2 separate regions of the Homo sapiens genome follow, and region 1 is linked to region 2. Evidence: promoter capture Hi-C in 16 types of primary human blood cells and fetal thymus (Javierre and others, 2016). All regions are on one chromosome and are shown on one strand. Each heading gives the region's core, a stretch centred on a gene start or on the middle of the fragment in contact. The rest is flanking DNA. Distances are from core to core; before and after follow the strand shown.

Region 1 (2,700 bases), core at 148-2,647, 2.0 Mb after region 2:
ATCCACAAATGGTATGTAATTATATTCCTTAAAAATACCTATGTGAAATACTCTGATACATATTGGAAAGTGTGTCAAATGGTGACTGAGCTTTGATTAGGTTAAAAACTAGATTGTAATCTTGGTCTTAACTTTTAATTTCTCTGGACCTAATTATTTGTAAAACAAGAAATTAGGACTTTTGACTTTATATGTAGTTACATTTGATTTACTGTTAAATGAAATAGTGTTCATTTTAAAAGATAAAATTGTTAGATAAAGATTAAAAGCTTTGGTAGCAAGCCTAATGCAATTGAAATATAAAATGTTTCTCTCTGGATTATAAATACTGCCTATAAGTTTTTACTAGACCTTTAGAGAAATACATCATTCCTCAGTATTTGAGTAGGTTATCATTAAACCCATTTTCTTCCTTCCCTTTTTAGGCTCGAAGAGCAGTTCAGAAGAATATGATATTTATTGATCAAAATAGAGTTATGCTTAAATATCTCTTTCCTTTGAATGAAATTGTGGTAGATTTTTATGACTCTTTGAAATCCCTATCTTCTGGATATGCTAGGTAAAAAAATAATGAGAACCTAAGATGCCTGACCAACTTTTTTGAAATATTGATGAGCAAGGGTATACTAATTCTTCATTTATTTAGTAATTTCAGCTTTCTTGAAGATAGTTGAGAATCATACTCTAAGGTTAGAATGACTTGGAACAACTTTATAGGTGTTACAGACTACTTGTGATTTGCTTATAGGAGAAAAGTTTCCTTTGATTTATTATCTAACTTTTATTTCTCTTTTAACAAAAAAAGTTAGTCCCCTTTTCATGAAGAGCTGTATTCCTTGTCTGTTAAGAATTAGACCTAATTTCAAAAATTTACCATAACCTCAGTGGCACTTTTAAAATGTATATTTATGTTATGCAATCTCAAGAGCATCTATTTACATTTGAAAAATAAAAGTGCATATTCAGTCTGTAAAAAATGTTAGATGTGCCGCTCCATTAGTGAACACTTTAATAACTTAGTCTTTTGAGGAACAGGTTGTCCTCATCACGAAAACCTTTGTGTATCTCATAGGAGTACATGGAGAAAAGCCAGATAAAAGTGAAAGGAGAGTTACTATTAAATAACAAATAAGAAACTCAGGGCATAGCATTCTGAGAGGCTGTTTTTTGTTGTTGTTGTTGTTGTTGGGGCATATAACTCTAGATACCCTCACTATGCCCTAAAATCTTATGTTACGGGATAGTATATATAGAAAACAGATGTGAAACATGGGGAAGCAGGAGGGGAAAAATGAACATTGACATCTATAAAACTCCCACACAGTGCATGAATGTTAATGTTAACATGCAGAGACAAATTCCAGTGTTTAACAAACATGCTACAGTGACTTGGAAGTTTAACTTTATTTAATCATCTTGTCAGTGAAGAGAGTTAGCATATATAATTCTTCTTACCAAGGAATCTTCATGTTCCTTTGTATTGAGAATTTTCTTCTACTTTGTCACCCAGTTTTTTCTTCTTCTATGTCTTCTTTCAGACAAGACCTTGAGCAAGTAAGTGGCAATGGAATTTAAAGTAAAATGAATTGAGGGGCATATTAAAATTACTAGAGTTGAAAGGAAGATTAGTAGGTTTAATGTTTATAAATATTTTTAACAGAAGTCTGTCAATTTTAGTTTGCATTTGGGTACTACTTTCTGAATTATAAGTGGTCTTAAAAAGCCTTGTCGTTTGGAAACTTAAATACATTTTGAATTTAATGAGAGAACATGATTTATTTTTGAACTACATAAAAATAAAATATTCCAGCTTCCAGCATTAAGGTAATTATGTTCAAGATGGATGTTTTACATAGGCAGTCAATTCCACACTTAACAGAAAGTCATCATAGACTATGAATTAAGATCAGGAAAAAACTTATTTCATACCAGGAGGCAAGAATCAACAGCAACTAGTAGCTTTTTGGAATTACAAATGTGTTTCCTGCATTCTAAGGAAACACTAGAATACCTATGTTTTCAATAGAGGTTAGGTATCAATTGGACTGCTTGGAAACAAAAACACAATTTTTATAATGATTTCTTTTGAAAAAATGAGTTAAGAAATTTTTAAGATTTTTAATATTTTGGACCACAACATAGCTGGAGCTGTAACAACTTCAAAGTTAAGGACCATGTCTGTTTTATTCTCTATTTGCTTTGTATTCTGTATGATACTTAACATGGTATCTTTCATACAGTAAATGTATAAGTGATGCTTCCTGAAGAAAGAAAGGATTTTAACAGTACTTCTGAAAATAATCTGTTAATAGAGTGTATTATTGTCACTTTATGACCTTCCTGCTGAAAATCTTTAGAAACCAAATATAATTTTGCAAGTCCAGGCACCAATTGTTTTAAAATTAAGACAATAGGAGTATACATATTCTTGTCTGTGATTGGGACAACTTGTAAGCCTAATTGAAATTTTCTTTAGACTTCAGTTTTATAAGTGAAACATTTAAATGTCTGTTTTGACTAACATTACAAGCTTTGACCACATTGTTAAAAGTAATAGCTGAAACTAAGTGCTTGTGTGTGCTAAGCTAGGCTCTGTTTAAACACTTATTATGTACTAGGCATTGCTCTAATTGGTTTACATGTATTAACTCATTTAATCCTCACAAAAGCCCTGTGAAGGGAGATGCAAGCTGAAGAGCC
Region 2 (2,700 bases), core at 68-2,567:
CTGAAATCCAATTCTCCTAACTTATATATTTTTCTAAAACCACTTCACCACCTGTCTCACATTAAAAGATGGAGGTGGGGAGGAAGAGTGGGAATCAGCGATGATGGCAAGATAGATTTCTGAAAAACATGTTATTCCACCCTCTGCAGGATTCAAGTACAGGTTTATGGGAGAGGACAAACAAACCTTGGGATATTTACAGTCTTGGCTTTGACGCGAGCAAAATCAAATAATATTTACAGAGTGCCTGCCACATGGCAGGCAGGATGTTGAGGGCTCCTCGGAGACGATGAAGAGTCTGGGCCCTCGGAAAGCTTACTTGCTTCTACCCCGGAGCATCTGTTGCTCAGTGTTGACAACCATGGCCATTCAAGAGCTGGCCCCAGGTGGAGCAAAGAAAACAGCTTCCACCTGGCTGAAAAGTCAGCTCAGCTGGCCGAAGTGAGGGTTTCGGGCAAAAGGGAAACACAAAAACGAAACCTCAGACGCGAGCCGGTGGGACTCCGCTGCAGGAGGCAGAATTGCAGAAGCTGTAATGCAGGGAACCCACTCGGCACCCGACCCCGATGAAGGCTCCCCGCGCTTCGAGAGCCAAGGGACTACGGATCAAAGGATCCTGCAGCCGGGGAAAAGCAAACTCGCTTCGCTGGGAGCTCAGATAGGGGGTTGCAAAACGGTGGGCGCCGGAGGCAGGGGCGGCGGGCTGGGGATCTGCTGAGTGGAAATCGAACTGGTGGGGAGGGAGGTGGGCAGGGCGAGTGAGCTCAGTGACTGGGACCTAATGGTCACACTGCGGTGCAAAGCACGCCTCGGGGCTCCCGCGGAGAACACCCATTCGAGGGTACTGGAGCCTGGAAAGGGTCTGCGAGTACACTGGGGGCAGCGCGGGGGGAAGGGTCCCCTAGGGGCCGGGCGCGACAGTCGGACTGCCGCCGGGGAAGAGGTAGGATGCGGTCTCTTCCAGGATAAACACACACGCTCACACACACACTCGCTTCCCGACCCCGGGCTAGCCCCGAGCCTCGGCGGCCCCTTACCTTCGGCGCGCGAGCGGATCTCCGACACGGTCCTCCGCATGGTGGGCATCGCGGCGGCGGCTGCAGGTGGGTCCTCAGCCCGGACTCTGCACCTGTCACGGCGTGGTACACGCGGGAGACCCGGCTGCGCCGCGCAGAGCGCTCAGCTGCAGCCTGGGCCGCGCCGCCGCCCACCTAGGGCAGAGCTGCCGCCGGGCGCGGCCCCCGCACGCCGACAGGAGGAGGAGAAAGGCAGCGGTGGCGGCGAAGGTGGCGGCGCCCGCAGAGCTGGGCGAGCTCTTGCTGCAGCCGCGGAGGGGCGGCTCGGCGAGGGGCGGAGCTCGGGCGCCGGCGCCGGGGGAGGGGCCTGCGGGGCTCGCGCTCCCCCTCCCGCGGCCGCTCAGCAAGGAAGGCGGGTGAGGGGCGGGGAGAGCCAGGGGGAGCCTCCTTCGCCCCGCCCCGCCCCGCTTCGGACCGTATCACGACTCAAAGGGGGGATCAACTCTTAGCCTCCTTAGTCCTCCAGCGTTTTCGCTCCGCCCTGTGGAGTTGGTTGACCCGGTTCCTCCTCCAGGCCACTCGGACTCTCTCACATCTTGCTCAGAAAGGAAAGACTGCTCTGGCTGCTGCATTCTCACGAATCCCCTCCCGCTACCCCTGGCTTTTGATCGCAGTGGAGCCGCCCGTCGTCCGGAAAGAGCTGTTGGGTCTGAGCCGGCAGGCGAAGGCGAAAGGGTCTGGGACTACAAGGTTTAGCTCCCAGCCAGAGCAGGAAAGGAACGACTGACTGTTCGCCATCTGGGTGTAATTCTAACCTCTCTGCACGCCCAGCCCGACTCGTGGCCTGAGCCGCACTTGTCCTCCTGCCTCGCCCACTAGCAACAGGCTGCCAGGTCGGGAGGCCCCTGGTGCCCATGGTGCTCTTGTCCATGGGGCTTGGGTGCATCTGGGCCCCGCCTGCAAGTGGGCCCGGTGCATCTCCCTAGTTCAGGCTCTGCAGCCTGACAAGGCACTGAAATAGCAATTAAGCCAACTAAGTATTGGCCCAGGTGGTTCACAAAAGACTTTTTTTTTTTCTTTTAGTTAAATCTGCATAAAGTTGGATGCAGTCGTTTTATCTGCAAAGGGGAGAGGAGTCTTTGTATAAAATCCATAAATATGTTAAATTTTAATTTGCCGATGTCCTTCAGACTATCATAGCCTCATTACCTTTTATTTTGTATACCGAGATCTATGCTAAAAAGTTGTCAAAACAAATACTTCACCTTCAAGTTAAGATGTAAGGTTTTGTGCTGTTTCTGGCGAGCTGCTGAACTGGCAGGAAAGGAATAAACCAGAAACAATAAATCAGAAGCAATTTGCTTCTTCCCTCATTTCATGCTCTTCCTCCAGCAACCAGCGAAAGAGATCCTCACATAGAGGCCTTTTATTTGAGATCTTTTCACATCCTGAAGGGAGAGAGCTGGAGAGGTTTGACCTGAGAGAGAAGTGATTATTTCCAAGCCTCAGGAAAAAATGAAATAAAATCTGCTAATAGCGTCCTATCTCCATTTGTGGTATTTCTTCTGCTTCCTGCAGGTAGCACTTGCTAATCAGAGCCCTGCCCTACATTAATACTCAGGCAGTCAATGCATATTTATGAAGAGCCCACTCTAGTTGGCTCTGATTCAGAGGCTGGAATTAG

What was found. The method cuts DNA at HindIII sites, captures the fragments that hold promoters and counts their contacts. A CHiCAGO score of 5 or more calls a contact.
Region 1: a fragment that was not itself captured here is called in contact with the fragment with the promoter of ATP8A1 in region 2 in 1 of 17 cell types (naive CD4 T cells); the score reaches 5.2 in naive CD4 T cells.

The regions. Positions count from the first base shown.
Region 1 is chr4:44,691,241-44,693,940 of GRCh38, forward strand. GUF1 (GTP binding elongation factor GUF1) reads left to right here. Exons shown (of 17, transcript NM_021927.3): 13 at 426-559. Among named protein-coding and RNA genes, the nearest start is that of GUF1, 14 kb to the left of the region's middle. The HindIII fragment of the contact is 2,261 bases long and covers 268-2,528 here.
Region 2 is chr4:42,655,788-42,658,487 of GRCh38, forward strand. It overlaps ATP8A1 (ATPase phospholipid transporting 8A1), which reads right to left and starts at 1,318. Exons shown (of 37, transcript NM_006095.2): 1 at 1,038-1,318. The coding sequence starts at 1,086. It overlaps ATP8A1-DT (ATP8A1 divergent transcript), which reads left to right and starts at 1,736. Exons shown (of 1, transcript NR_186688.1): 1 at 1,736-2,560. RefSeq lists enhancers at 505-554, 1,545-1,754 and a silencer at 1,045-1,514. The HindIII fragment of the contact is 6,451 bases long and covers 313-2,700 here.